Regions from separate parts of the Homo sapiens genome. Here all the other regions are linked to region 2. The links are contacts of gene promoters, found by promoter capture Hi-C in human tissues and cell types (Jung and others, 2019). All regions are on one chromosome and are shown on one strand. The core of a region is centred on a gene start or on the middle of the fragment in contact, and the rest is flanking DNA. Distances in the headings are between cores, read along the strand shown. Region 1 holds the start of ZNF791 (zinc finger protein 791). Region 2 has its middle 4.5 kb from the start of ZNF69. Region 3 holds the start of ZNF799 (zinc finger protein 799). Region 4 holds the start of ZNF443 (zinc finger protein 443).

Region 1 (3,549 bases), core at 871-3,370, 730 kb after region 2:
GAGTCTCACTACATTGCCCACACTGGTCTCAAACTCCTGAACTCAAGCAATCCTCCTACCTCAGTCTCCCAAAGTGCCAGGATTACAGGCATGAGCCACTGCACCCAGCCCAAATGTGATATTCCAAAGGATGCAGGTGGCTGTGTTGGGATGGCCAATGAAGGTAAGGGACAATGGAAGTACAGGGTGAGGGCAATGAACAGGACATACCTGAGAGCCTGGTTATTGGCCTTGACTATGGGAGTGCCTTCACAAAGACCCGAAAGACCCCCCCACAAAGAGGTCATAGAAGGACAGACCCAAATGGTCATTATAAACAAGGAAGGTAGCCACGCTGACAGGTAGCGATCTCACTTACAGTTTGAGTCTTGATGCTTTGTCCATGGTGTTCACTGTTCTGCATCTAATTAGAAACAAGAGGATGCATTTTGTGAGTTTCAGCAATTTAGAACTAAACATGACCTTTGACAGCCTTGGAAGCATTGTTCCCCCTGCATCTACCTGTACACACAGAGCTACCAGAAGGGTGGATCATGGGAGTTTTCAAGATTACACTGTCTCCTCTATAATGGGAAAAATGAAATATGTTTCTACTTTAAAAAAAAAATTTAGAGACAGTCTCTCTCTCTCCCAGGCTGGAATGCAGTGGCACAATCTTGGCTCACTGTAACCTCAAACTCTTAGCCTTGAGATCCTTCTGCCTCAGCCTCCGAAGGAGCTAGGACTACAGGTGAACACCATACCCAGCTAATTTTTAAAAATTTTTTGAGAAATGGGGTCTCGCTATGTTGCCCAGGCTGGTTTTGGGCTCTTGGTCTTTCCAAGTTCTGTAGGGACACTTTAGAAAACTTATTTGAGATAAATTTCCTTCCACTTTACAGCAACACGGATGGAACTGGAGGCCATTATCCTAAGTGCGATGATGCAAAAACAGAAAGTCAAAAACTGCATCTTCTTACATATAAGTGGGAGCTAAACAATGGGTAAACATGGACATACAGAATGGAATAATAGACACTGGAGATGCCAATAGGTTGGACAGAGAGGGGGGATGAGGGATGAAATATTACCTATTGGGTACAATATACACTCTTTGGGTGATGGGTGCACTAAAAGCCAGACTTCGCCACTATGAAATATATCCACGTAACACAAGTGCATTTGTAACCATAAATCTACAAAAATAAAAATAAAAATGAAAAGCAATAAAAACATGCTTAAACTAAAAACAAACAAACAAAAAAACAACGAAAACAAACCATTTCCTTCCAGAGTAAAACGCAGTTTACTGAGCACGTCTCATAGATCGTGATTGGTCTGAAGAGTCCCTGTGCCCAGGTTAGGGTTGCAATTTACCACCCGAGCCAAGTGCTCGGGTGTCCTACGGATTGTTTTTTCTTTCTTTCCTTTTTTTTTTTTTCTTGGGATGGGTTCTGGCCATGTTGCCCAGACTGAACTCAAACTCCTGGAGTCAAGCGATCCACCCGCCTCAGCCCACCCACCCCCCGACCTCCCCCACCGCCCCCACCACGCAGTAGCTGGGACTACGGGTGTGCGCCACCAAGCCCTGCCTTGGGGTTCCTTTTCTAAAGTGCCAAATGTGTGGAGGTGGGGAAAAGAAAGGTGGACGCCTCAACGCTGTTATGGTCAAAGATTAAAATGCAACCACACTTTTTATTACACATGATGGGGTAACCGTCTGTTTATAAACAAGGGTCACTATTCCACGAGAGGCCTTACAACATTATGCCAAGCCCCTGGTACCTGGAGGACATCAGACCCTCCTGTTCCTGTGCGGCCTTGACTAGACGACCACTTGCTCTGGACTTGCTCCTCGAGGGGTCGCTCCATCTGGAAACTGAGACTGGAATTCCTGCGCATCCCTGTCCCCGCATCCAGAAACACTGCAGGAAGACTTCCGTGTCCGACCCGAGATCCGGAACAATTTCTGCTTCAACACAATTGTCCACGGAGGGCACCAGTTCCGTCCCACCGGCGGAAGCGAGATCTGCCTAGCTACTAGACCTGCTGCCTAGCTGTCATTCGGACAAAAAGGGGCGGGGCTGTATAATTGTCCAATCAGGGGCGGCGCCGGAAAGGAGGGTACGGCTACGCTGCGCAAATGCGTGCTACGTCACTGTGCGATCGGGTTGTGCTTAGCTTGGGGTCTCCTGGCCCCTTGACGCGTCAGGTTGCTGTACCCCTGCATCGGATGCGCTGTACCCTGCGCTGGCTCCGTGAACCTTAGGGACAACACCGGGACACCCGCGAGGCCGGAAAATGGTGAGTGTGCAGGGCCGGACTAGTTGGAACCGGCCGTGATCGCGGGACCCGGGCCTCCCCACGGTCACCTCCGGCCGCAGTGTGGGGCTGGGCTGGCAGCTGGAACTCCAAGCGTCCTGTCCCGTCCCTGCGCGGCGACTGCGGTCCCAGCCCCGGAGCCCTCTCTGGACAACTCCGCGCCCGCAGCCCCGCGTCTTTCCCAGATCGTGCAGGGACCACGGGAGGGTCCTGGGGAGAATCCCGCCTTGTGTGTTTGGTTTGTGTGGGAGGAGCTACAGTCTGGGGTTCCCAGTCCCTTCTTTCTTCCCAAAGGCTGTTTCCCCCTGAGTCTTCCAAAGATGTTGGAAGCAGAGTCTCAAATCCACTACCCTGTCCCCCCAGCCTAGCTCCTCCCACGGCGGGCCATTAATCCCTAGATTTCCGGATCCCTCCCCGAATTCCCAAACGCCTACTTCCGCTCGCCAGTGGAAAACATCGTCACCAACTCTTTGTCCTGTGTGGTGCATTTCAAACACACGCAGTATTTTAATAATCTTTTTTCCAATAGATGCCTCTTTTAAACGATTTATTTCTTGTTTGTGGATATTTTACATCAGAGAAAAATCAGAAAAATTATTCACTTGGAACTAATCTGCATAAAATGCTGTGGCCCTCATCCTGGTACCTTTCCAGGGCACAGACATCCTATGGGAACTCCTTTGCGTTGAGGTTCCTTTTTGTAAACTTTCCTGGGTAATCTATCTTTTCAGCACAGTTTCAGATTGGCACTGTCCCGCCTTGGGTTTATGACCTTGAAAAGATTTATTCACTCGAATGTCATTTTTCCAATAAATATAAAATATATGTTATCAGAAGAACTTGAGAGACAGTACAAAATATTTCCAAAGGGCAAAAAAGAAATGAATCTCAGAAAACAAAAAACATCCCAATATTACATTTGTTAAAAATTCTTTGTTCTTTCCCTGAGCACATGGAATATGTTTCTCAGGTCTGTTCTTTTAGTTTGATGTTTCAGATGGTATTCCAGGACTTAAACTTGCAACATCTAGAAGCATTCAGATAGAAGTAATACTTTTGTAAACTATTTATTGCCATGGAAATAATTAACTGACATTATTATTTTCTTTTTTTTTTTTTTAACAGATGGGGTCTGGCTGTGTTGCTCAGGCTGATCTTGAACTCCTGGGCTCAAGCGATCCTCCACCCTCAGCATCCCAAAGTGCTAGGATTCCAGGCATGAGCTACTATTACCGGCCCAACATTCTC
Region 2 (3,649 bases), core at 452-2,951:
CAAGAGATCCTTAATTTGAGAGGCTGAGCCACAAGGAACCCCCAAAATAGGCAAGAGATCCTTAATATGAGGGGTTGAGCCACAGCAAGCCCCCCTAGGCAAGAGATTCCTATCACGAGGGATTGAGCCTAGCCAGGACCCAGTATAGGAAATATTACAAGCAAAAAAGACAAAGTTAGCAACAAAGATATCCCCCCTAATAGTCCCCTAGGTCTCATGTTAAAACATTAGAAAGATAATGAAAAGACTAAACATAAGAAAAAGCAATTAGTGATAAAATATTGCTGTTCCATTTAGACTCAAGAACGAATCCTTGAACCCTTAGTTTTCTGGCCAGAATTTAAGTCGAATGAGGGATGGATTTGTGAACTTCTAATAGAAAATGTTGCTAGTAGAAGACCTGCCTCCTGAGAAGAAACAAATTATGCCCTATGTTAGTTGCAAGGAGTTGTCCTTTCCCCTCCTCCAAGGATTGAAAGGAGCAAGTCAAAAACTAATATTTGGAGGAAAATGAGTTGTACATGTGCCCTATTAAGATAGAACCATCTTTAATGAAAAAGACAGTGAAGGAAGGGGCTTGGGGGATCCTAGCAAAAAGAACAACTCGCAAGATCCCCTAGACCATTCCCCACCTAATACCCAACCCTTCCCCTCAGGCATCGCCCAGTAAGTCTGTTCTTCCCCAGCCTAAGTCCCTCTCCCCTAAAGAACTCCAAGCTCCTAATTCACCAGATGGCTTTTGCCAGGCTAGCAACATGAAGGATCTGCCGCAACATGTTGTCAGCGTTGTCTGGCCCATAGTGCACCCCTGCAGCGGCAAAGCCCATGCTCCTGCCCACTGGCTGGTCCAAGGTCCTGGCACTGTATTGACGGCAGCTCTGCATGACATGCGAGCCAGGCCCCAGCCTATGCCCCATGCAAACTACATTATAGGATATCTGCCTTACTTTGCTGAGGCTAAGTAATACGGGGCTTCAGCGATGGCTCCAAGCAGCCTGGCATCCCCGCAGCTAAGTTTCCTGAGCAAGAAGTAGATAATCTTTCAGCGGATATATCCACTAGCATTTATTATAGTCAGGCCAGTGTTAAAAGTGAAAATATCCACCAGAAAAGAACTCTGATTCTTTAAAGTCACCTATGTTAAAATGTACCACCAAAAAAGAATTACATGTGTATAAATATGAGGCTATTCTGTTAAAAATGATAGTTTAATGTTACTAGTAATTTGCTTAACCTAACAAGTTTCTTAACGAAAGATCCAAATCTAAAAAGGAAGCACACATGTTTAGATTTAACTGATTACCATACAAATGTCCGGCCAAACTTAAGAGAAACCCCCTTCAAAAATGATTAAAGGAAAAAGGATTCAACAGATGTTCAATAATAAATAGAGAAGTTCCTAGAGAAATAAAATTTAAAAATTGTTTAATAGTTTACCCAAATTTGTAAGCTGTTTGCACTTAGTCAAGCTTTAAAGTAACTGCAAAGGAACCATCTATACTAATCTATATTGATTCTAAATACACCTTTATCGTGGCTCATACATTTAGAAAATTTCAGACAATAATAAAGGTCAAAGCCTTGTTCATGAAGAGTTAATAACCCAAGTGTTAAATAACCTTCAGTTACCAGAAAAAAAAAAAAAGCTATTTTCCACGTCCCCAGGCACCAAAAATCCTATCTTTCAAGAGTTAAGAAAATAACCTAGCAAATCAGATAATCCGAACCAGCTGCCGTTTCTCCTGTAGGCACTGAAGGGAATTCAAATGTTATTTAAACCTCTTATGAAAGAAGTCCTATCCCACCTAAATTAGAGGACCCATTAAAGACCTCAAGCTATGTATAGCACAGTTAAAGTTTATATGTGTATGAAAATGTACATCCTTAGCCAAACAAGTCTAGAAACTTAGTTGCCATAACTCAAATGTCTTCTGTCTTCCTATTAATCCAAACTACCTCTCAAAGCAATCCACTGCCAACATTCCTACATACTTGGTTTATCTTCCACTTTCTCTTCCCTCAAAACTCACAATTTTCCAGTACAGGTGCGGCTCCTGGAGTTCCCAGTGCGTCAACACCGGCCTGAGGAGCTGGCCTAGTACTTCCCACCATTGAAACTGCAGTCTGGACAGCAGAGAAAGGATAGACCCATCACACCCGAGTCAAGAAAGCACCGCCACCCCCAAAGTCGTAGGCCATTATTCCAGGGGAAAACCCCCTCAAACTAAAGCTAAGAAAAATTTAACCTCTTACATCTATTCTATTACTCTTTCTTCTTTTCCCCTTCCAATGCTGACCACCTTGTCATTAATGTAACTCAATCAAACTCACCCCAAGTTATCACGTTTAATGCTATGTCTAGTCATACCCTGTAAAGATCTCCAAAGTCAAAGACAAGTCTCAGCCTCAGAAAAGTATCTCTGCCCCTTTAAGGTGAAAGGCCCCCCCTACCAAGACTCTTGTTCCTTAACAAATATAAGAAAACAAGTCTGTCATAGCTAGAATGATGTCCTATGGACAACCAAATGTCAAGGCTAGACCTCATCAGCAGGTGGCTGTATATCCTTAAAACCATACATTCATTTCACTAAAAAAAGCACCTCCCCAATTGCCAGTATAATCAATGTAATCCCATACAAATTTCCACCTCTACTGACCCTAAACCTACTTTAAGTCACTTCTATGGAACAGGAGCCAACTTGGCCAGCACAGACCTCATAAGATCTTTCGAAATGCGTTTTATTAATCCTTCATTCTCTTCACCCCCTTCCTTCTCTTCTCCTTCTAAGCTTTCTTCTAATCAGACTGCCACCTGTTTTCTACCTAATGATACTACTAAAGTAAATATTGTAGAAGTAAAAGATTTAAGACAAACCCTAGCAATTAAAACAGGATATCAAGATGTAAATACCTGGTTGGAATGGATTCAATATTCCGTCCGCACATTGAACAAAAGCAATTGTTACGCTTGTATGCATGGCAGACTAGAGGCCCAGACTGTTTCCTTTCCACTAGGATAGCCCTTCAGCCGACCAGGCATAGGCTGTATGGTAGCTCTTTTCCAAAATTCCACAGCCTGGGGCAACAAATCATGCCAAGCTCTCTCTCTGCTATATCCCGAAGTCCAACAACCTGCAGGCCAGCCCCCAAAGGCCATTCAGCTTCCTTCTCCTGACGTCAATTTCACCTCATGTCTCTCACGACGAGGGGAGAATCTGGCGTTCCTTAGAAGCTTAACAAGATGCAATAAGCTTAAGCCCTTCCAAAAACTTACCCATCAGTCTGCCCTTAGTCATCCTCAAGCAGATGTATGGTGGTATTGTAGTGGACCTTTACTGGATACTCTGCCAAGTAACTGGAGCGGCACTTGCGCTCTTGTCCAATTGGCGATCCCTTTCACACTGGCATTTCATCAACCAAAAAAAAAGAAAAGCCACAACACCAAAAAATAAGAGAAGCCCCTTATAAGTCTTTTGACTCTCAAGTTTACATAAAGGCCATTAGAGTCCCATGGGGAGTGCCTAACAAGTTCAAAACCTGAGACCAAATAACTGCAAGATTTAAACCCATATTTCCCCGAATAACTATTAATAAAAATGTAGCTTCGATAAATTACATCTATTATAATTAGCAGCAGTTTATGAATTAC
Region 3 (3,463 bases), core at 921-3,420, 520 kb after region 2:
AGGCTGAAAAGAGTAAACATATCTTTTCAAGCTAACAAACTCAGGAATCAGCAGTGCTGACTGGAACACAGAAAAGTCTAATGCAACAATCAGGGTGGGTCATCCTATCACCTGGGACATCCCTTAACCCTATTCTGGTCATCACCCTCCCAGGAGACACTGCCTTGTGTGCTTTTCAGGATCTTGCACTACCTCAACGGGCAGGTTCTCCAGTCCTTAGATATAACTTTCTACCTTTTAAGTCTGAGAGAGTCCAGAAGGCAAAAATCATTTCTGTTTTTTTTTCCTATGGAATATGACCATGAAATTGGCTGTTCAGTCATGTGTCTCCAAGGAATGGAAACTAGGGTTGGGAAGAAAAGGTGAGTGTCCCAGGAGTTAGCTTTTTACAGGAATTATATACCAGAAGATTCCTCCCATCCCAGTGGATCCAGTTGCTCCCCAGGGGGCCACACCCCCCATCTCAGGCTGTCCCCTGGGAGGAGTGACCCAGGGGATGATATTCACTAGACCCTCCAAGAGACTTGGCAGCTGTGGACACCCTTTTTTTTTTTTTTTTTTGAGACAGGGTCGGCCTCTGTTGCCTAGGCTGGGATGCAGAGGCACGATCATAGCTCACTGCAACTTCAAACTCCTGGGCTCCAGCCATCATCCCACCTCAGCCTCAGGAGTAGCTGCGACTACAGGTGCCAGCTACCAAGCCCAGCTAATTTTATTATTATCATTTATACTAGAGACAAGGTCTTGCCATGTTGCCCAGGCTGGTCTGGAACTACTAAGATTAAGCAATACCTCTGCCTTAGCCTCCCAAGGTGCTGGAATTACAGGAATGACCCACCGTGTTCAGGAACCCAAAATAATTCTTTCAAGAAAAAGCCATACATTGCTAGCTGAAAACAAGATGACAAACTAGTGAAATATCGCCTGGGGGCCAAACAGTTCATACCGTTGCTGTGAATTAAGGACAGAAGGTTAGCCTGGGGAAGTCTCTGGAAACCAAGAGATTTGCTGCCAGCCCTAGGAGGAGTCAGGATGAGAGAACACAGTGGTGGATTTGAGACCCTGCTAACCACATCTTTGGAAGACTCAGAGGGGAAACGGTCGCCCTTGGAAAGAAAGAAGGGACTGAGGACCACGGAGACCACAGCTCCTCCCACACACAAACCCCACACACGAGTCTGGATTCCACCTGGTGACTCGTCGTCACCGTGCAGCCTCCTCACCGGGTTCACAGGAACTGCGAGCCAGGCTGGAGGCGAGATTGCAGTTAGATATTAACCAGGTGCCCTCAGCCCCGCTGCCTCAAGGGGCCGCCTCCCTGAGAGTCAGGTCACAGCAGACGCTGACCGCCGGCTTCCCCATTGTGCCTGGGGATAAGATCTCTGAGAACTGCTCAAGAGTCGCCGGAGTTCTCAGATCCTGAATCCCAGCAAAGGCTGGCGCCAATCAGGTTGAAGTCCCAACGAGGGAGCCCATTCAGCAGAATGCGGTTTCTTCACCTCCTGTCCCAGGATTCACCCCTCACTTCCCCACCAACCAACGACCCTACACCCAGCCGCCCCCGTCCAGACCCCAAATCCCTCAGGGAGGCGGATCTGGGGTGTCCTCCCCTCTCTGGCTATTAAACTGTTTCTGCTGCAGCCCTCAGCGTCTCGGTGCAGTGAGTCGGGCCGCGAACCTGTGTTGCTTACAGCCGCACAATCTCGGGAGACGCGAGGCTGCGGGCGCGGAGCTGCCCAGAGAGGGCGCCGGGGCCGCAGTCGCCGCGCAGGAACGGGACAGGACGCCCGGGGTCCCGGCTGCATGCCCAGCCCCACCCTGCGGCCGAGGGCCGACCTACGCCAGGGGAACCCGGGTCCGTAGATCCCGGAGTAGCCCTTGGGGAGGCCCGGGTCCAGCCACAGCCGATTACTGCAGGTTCCACCCAGCCCCTCCCCCGCCTCGGGACGCCGGCCCAGCACACGCACCATTTCCCGACTTCCGCGGTGTCCCAGGTCCTCCGGACGGCTCCCGCTGCCAATGCGGGTTCCCGCGGGACACAGGCTGCCACGGAACTTCCAGGTCGTCTCTTAGCTACAGAGCCGAGCACCGAGCGCCCAGCGCAGGTGGGTGGAGAAGACGCCGCGGGCTTTTTCAACCACACACTCCTCTGGGAAGCGCGCCTGATTGACAGTTCCCACGAACCCGCCCCACGGCCCTTACTGGATACGGCGTCAGGTGCCGCCCCTCGTGGACTGATTGACAGAAGAAGCGATCTTGCACAGCTGAGTGGAGCCAGATGAGCAAGTTCCTGACACAGCCCTTGGCAGGGCGGGCTTCCTCCCTGCTCTTTGATCTGAATCCTCCCGAGGGATATTTGCACTTAAGCGGAATTTCCTGCCTGTACTCAATAGGACCTCCTGCTTCTTCCTCCTGTACACTGACTGACAAAACAATTATACTTTTTTTTTTTTTTTTTTTTTTTTTTCCGAGAGAGAGAGAGAGAGAGAGAGAGAGAGAGGGAGTCTTGCTCCGTGGCTCAGGCTAGAGTGCAATGGTGCGAGGCTCACTGCGACCTCCGCCTCCTAGGTGGGTTCAAACAATTCTGCCTCAGCCTCCCGAGTAGCTGGGATTACAGGTGCGCGCCACCACACCCGGCTAATTTTTGTATGTTTTAGTAGAGGCCGGGTTTCACCATGTTGGCCAGGCTGGTCTCGAACTCCTGACCTCGTGATCCGCCCACCTTGGCCTCCCAAAGTTCTGGGATTAGAGACGTGAGCCATCGCGCCTGGCTCCAATTATACTCTTTTTCAATGAAATTTTTCAAAATATTTCAATGTACAATTAAATTATTTTTTACTATAGTCACTCTGTTGTGCTAGCAAATACTAGGTCTTATTCATTCTTTGTAACTATTTTTTATACCTATTAACCATCCCCACTTCCCCCATAACTACTCCTCGCTACTACTTTTCCCAGCCTGTGGTAACCATCCTTCTACACGTTTTTGGTTGTTTGAGATGGGGTCTTGCTCTGTTGCCTAGGCTGGAGTGCAGTGGGGCCATCATGGCTCACTGCAACCTCTACCTCCCAAGCTCAAGCAATCCTCCCACCTCAGCCTCTCAAGTAGCTTCAGATTGTTCACTGTTGGCATATAAAAATGTTACTGATTTTTGTATGTTAATATTGTATCCTGCAACTTTACTGAATTTATTTCTCAGTTCTAATACTTTTTTGGTGGAGTCTTTAGGTATTTCCAGATATAAGATCATATTATATGCAAACCAGGATAATTTGACTTCTTCCTTTCCTTCCCAATATAGATGCCCTTTATTTCTTTTTTTTTTTTTTTTTGGACTTATTGCTCTAGCTGGGACTTCGAGTACTGTGCTGAACAACAGTGGTAAAAGTGGGCATTCTTATTGTGTTCCAGATCTTACAGGAAAGGCTTTCAGTTTTTCCTCATTCATTATCATGCTAGCTG
Region 4 (3,646 bases), core at 347-2,846, 560 kb after region 2:
CCCCTGGGAGGAGTGACCCAGGGGATGATATTCACTAGACCCTCCAAGAGACTTGGCAGCTGTGGACATCCATTTTTTTTGAGACAGGGTCGGCCTCTGTTGCCTAGGCTGGGATGCAGAGGCACGATCATAGCTCACTGCAACTTCAAACTCCTGGGCTCCAGCCATCATCCCACCTCAGCCTCAGGAGTAGCTGCGACTACAGGTGCCAGCTACCAAGCCCAGCTAATTTTATTATTATCATTTACACTAGAGACAAAGTCTTGCCATGTTGCCCAGGCTGGTCTGGAACTACTGGGATCAAGCAATACCTCTGCCTTAGCCTCCCAAGGTGCTGGAATTACAGGAATGACCCACCGTGTTCAGGAACCCAAAACAATTCTTTCAAGAAAAAGCCATACATTGCTAGCTGAAAACAAGATGACAAACTAGTGAAATATCGCCTGGGGCCAAACAGTTCATACTGTTGCTGTGAATTAAGGACAGAAGGTTAGCCTGGGGAAGTCTCTGGAAACCAAGAGATTTGCTGCCAGCCCTAGGAAGAGTCAGGATGAGAGAACACAGTGGTGGATTTGAGACCCTGCTGCCCACGTCTTTGGAAGACTCAGAGGGGAAACGGTCGCCCTTGGAAAGGAAGAAAGGACTGAGGACCACGGAAACCACAGCTCCTCCCACACACAAACCCCACACACGAGTCTGGATTCCACCTGGTGACTCGTCGTCACCGTGCAGCCTCCTCACCGGGTTCACAGGAACTGCGAGCCAGGCTGGAGGCGAGATTGCAGTTAGATATTAAACAGGTGCCCTCAGCCCCGCTGCCTCAAGGGGCCGCCTCCCTGAGAGTCAGGTCACAGCAGACGCTGACCGCCGGCTTCCCCATTGTGCCTGGGGATAAGATCTCCGAGTGCTGCTCAAGAGTCGCCGGAGTTCTCAGATCCTGAATCCCAGCAGAAAGGCTGGCGCCAACCAGGTTGAAGACCCCACGAGGGAGCCCTCTCAGCAGAATGCGGTTTCTTCACCTCCTGTCCCAGGATTCACCCCTCACTTCCCCACCAACCAAGGACGCTACACCCAGCCGCCCCCGTCCAGACCCCAAATCCCTCAGGGAGGCGGATCTGGGGTGTCCTCCCCTCTCCTCCTGTTAAACCGTTTCTGCTGCAGCCCTCGGCGTCTCGGTGCAGTGAGTCGGGCCGCGAACCTGTGTTGGTTACAGCCGCACAATCTGGGGAGACCCGGGGCTGCGGGCTCGGAGCTGCCCAGAGAGGGCGCCGGGGCCGCAGTCGCCGCGCAGGAACGGGACAGGACGCCCGGGGTCCCGGCTGCATGCCCAGCCCCACCCTGCGGCCGAGGGCCGACCTACGCCAGGGGGACCCGGGTCCGTAGATCCCGAAGTCGCCCTTGGGGAGGCCCGGGTCCAGCCACAGCCGATTACGGCCGGTTCCACCTAACCCCTCCCCCGCCTCGGGACGCCGGCCCAGCACACGCACCATTTCCCGACTTCCGCGGTGTCCCAGGTCCTACCGACAGCTCCCGCTGCCAATGCGTGTTCCAGCCAGACAAAGGCTGCCTCAGAACTTCCAGGTCGTCTCTCAGCTACAGAACCCAGAGCCGAGCGCAGGTGGGTGGAGCAGACGCCGCGGGCTTTTTCAACCACACACACTTCTCTGGGCAGTGCCTGATTGACAGTTCCCACGAACCCGCCCCACGCCCCTGATTGGATAGGGCGTCAGGTCCCGCCCCCTGAGGGCTGATTGACAGAAGAAGCGATCTTGCACAGCTGAGTGGAGCCGGATGAGCAAGTTCCTGACACAGCCCTTGGCAGGGGGGGCTTCCTCCCTGCTCTTTGATCTGAATCCTCCCGGGTTATATTTGCACTTAAGCGGAATTTCCTGCCCGTACTCAATAGGACCTCCTGCTTCTTCCTCCTGGACACGGACTGACAAACTAATTATATCTTTTTTTTTTTTTTTCCTCGAGAGGGAGTCTTGCTCTGTCGCCCAGGCTAGAGTGCAATGGTGCGAGGCTCACTGCAACCTTCGCCTCCTGGGTGGGTTCAAGCAATTCTCCTGCCTCAGCCTCCCGAGTAGCTAGGATTACAGGCACGCGCCACCACCCGGCTAATTTTTGTATTTTTCAGTAGAGGCTGGGTTTCACCATGTTGGCCAGGCTGGTCTCAAACTCGTGACCTCGTGATCCGCCTACCTTGGCCTCCCAAAGTTCTGGGATTAGAGGCGTGAGCAACTGCGCCTGGCTCCAATTATGCTCTTTTTCAATGAAATTTTTCAAGATTTTTCAATGTACAATTAAATTATTTTTTACTATAGTCACTCTGTTGTGCTAGCAAATACTAGGTCTTATTCATTCTTTGTAACTATTTTTTATACCTATTAACCATCCCCACTTCCCCCATAACTACTCCTCGCTACTACTTTTCGCAGCCTCTGGTAACCATCCTTCTACACATTTTTGGTTGTTTGAGATGGGGTCTTGCTCTGTTACCTAGGCTGGAGTGCAGTGGGGCCATCATGGCTCACTGCAACCTCTACCTCCTAAGCTCAAGCAATCCTCCCACCTCAGCCTCTCAAGTAGCTTCAGATTGTTCACTGTTGGCATATAAAAATGTTATTGATTTTTGTGTGTTGATATTGTATACTGCAACTTTACTGAATTTATTTCTCAGTTCTAATACTTTTTTGGTGGAGTCTTTAGGTATTTCCAGATATAAGATCATATTATATGCAAACAAGGATAATTTGACTTCTTCCTTCCCAATATGGATGCCCTTTATTTCTTTTTTTTTCTTTTTTTTTTTTTTGTCTTATTGCTCTAGCTGGGACTTCAAGTACTGTGTTGAACAACAGTGGTAAAAGTGGGCATTCTTATTGTGTTCCAGATCTTACAGGAAGGGCTTTCAGTTTTTCCCCATTCATTATCATGCTAGCTGTGGGTCTGCCATATATAGCTTTTATTATGTTAAGGTATGCTCCTTCTTTACCCACTTTTTTTTAGGGTTTTTATCATGAAGGGATGTTAAATATTATCAAAAGCTTTTTCAGTGCACATTGAAATGATTATATGGTGTTTGCCCTTTATTCTGTTGAAATGATACATCACATTGATTGATTTGCATATATTGAACCATCCTTGCATCCCAGGGATAAAGCCCACTTGGTCATGATGAATGATCTTTTTGGTGTATTGTTAAATTCAGTTTGCTAGTATTGAGTTGAGGATTTTTGCATCAATATTCATCAGTGACACTGGCCTATAGTTTTCTTTTTCTGACATGTCTTTGTCTGGTTTTGGTGTCAAAGTAATATTGGCTTTGTAAAATAAATTTGGAAGTATTGCCTTCTCCTCTGTTTTTTGGAATAGTTTGAGTAAGATTGGTATTAGTTCTTTTTTAAATGTTGGTAGAATTCAGCAGTGGAGCCACTGGGTTCTGGGGTTTTCTTTGCTAGGAGACTTTTTATTATGGCTTTGATCTCATTATTTGTTATTGGTCTGTTCAGGTTTTTTATTTCTTCATGGTTCAATGTTGCTATGTTCTATCTGCCTAGGAATTTATCAGTTTCTTCTAGGTTTTCCAGTTTATTGGCATATAGTTGTTCTTAGTTGCATTAATGATCCTTTGAATTTCTGCAGT

Evidence for each region. The method cuts DNA at HindIII sites, captures the fragments that hold promoters and counts their contacts. A contact is called where the count stands out against the background at its distance.
Region 1: a contact is called between the fragment with the promoter of ZNF791 here and a fragment that was not itself captured in region 2, in 2 of the 25 tissues and cell types used here (dorsolateral prefrontal cortex and heart right ventricle).
Region 3: a contact is called between the fragment with the promoter of ZNF799 here and a fragment that was not itself captured in region 2, in 5 of the 25 tissues and cell types used here (H1 embryonic stem cells, dorsolateral prefrontal cortex, liver and 2 more).
Region 4: a contact is called between the fragment with the promoter of ZNF443 here and a fragment that was not itself captured in region 2, in 2 of the 25 tissues and cell types used here (IMR-90 fibroblasts and dorsolateral prefrontal cortex).

Annotation. Positions count from the first base shown.
Region 1 is chr19:12,608,800-12,612,348 of GRCh38, forward strand. ZNF791 (zinc finger protein 791) reads left to right here and starts at 2,121. Exons shown (of 4, transcript NM_153358.3): 1 at 2,121-2,283. The coding sequence starts at 2,281. It overlaps ZNF490 (zinc finger protein 490), which reads right to left and starts at 2,014. Exons shown (of 5, transcript NM_020714.3): 1 at 1,765-2,014; 2 at 359-403. The coding sequence starts at 1,881. RefSeq lists enhancers at 1,683-1,902, 2,233-2,292 and a silencer at 2,033-2,092. The HindIII fragment of the contact is 50,335 bases long and covers 1-3,549 here.
Region 2 is chr19:11,881,506-11,885,154 of GRCh38, forward strand. No RefSeq gene overlaps it. Among named protein-coding and RNA genes, the nearest start is that of ZNF69, 4.5 kb to the right of the region's middle. The HindIII fragment of the contact is 6,745 bases long and covers 1-3,649 here.
Region 3 is chr19:12,399,101-12,402,563 of GRCh38, forward strand. ZNF799 (zinc finger protein 799) reads right to left here and starts at 2,171. Exons shown (of 4, transcript NM_001080821.3): 1 at 1,968-2,171. The coding sequence starts at 1,970. RefSeq lists enhancers at 1,466-1,555, 2,276-2,325 and a silencer at 1,786-1,945. The HindIII fragment of the contact is 18,323 bases long and covers 1-3,463 here.
Region 4 is chr19:12,439,425-12,443,070 of GRCh38, forward strand. It overlaps ZNF443 (zinc finger protein 443), which reads right to left and starts at 1,597. Exons shown (of 4, transcript NM_005815.5): 1 at 1,488-1,597. The coding sequence starts at 1,490. RefSeq lists a silencer at 1,276-1,365 and an enhancer at 1,776-2,045. The HindIII fragment of the contact is 16,773 bases long and covers 1-3,646 here.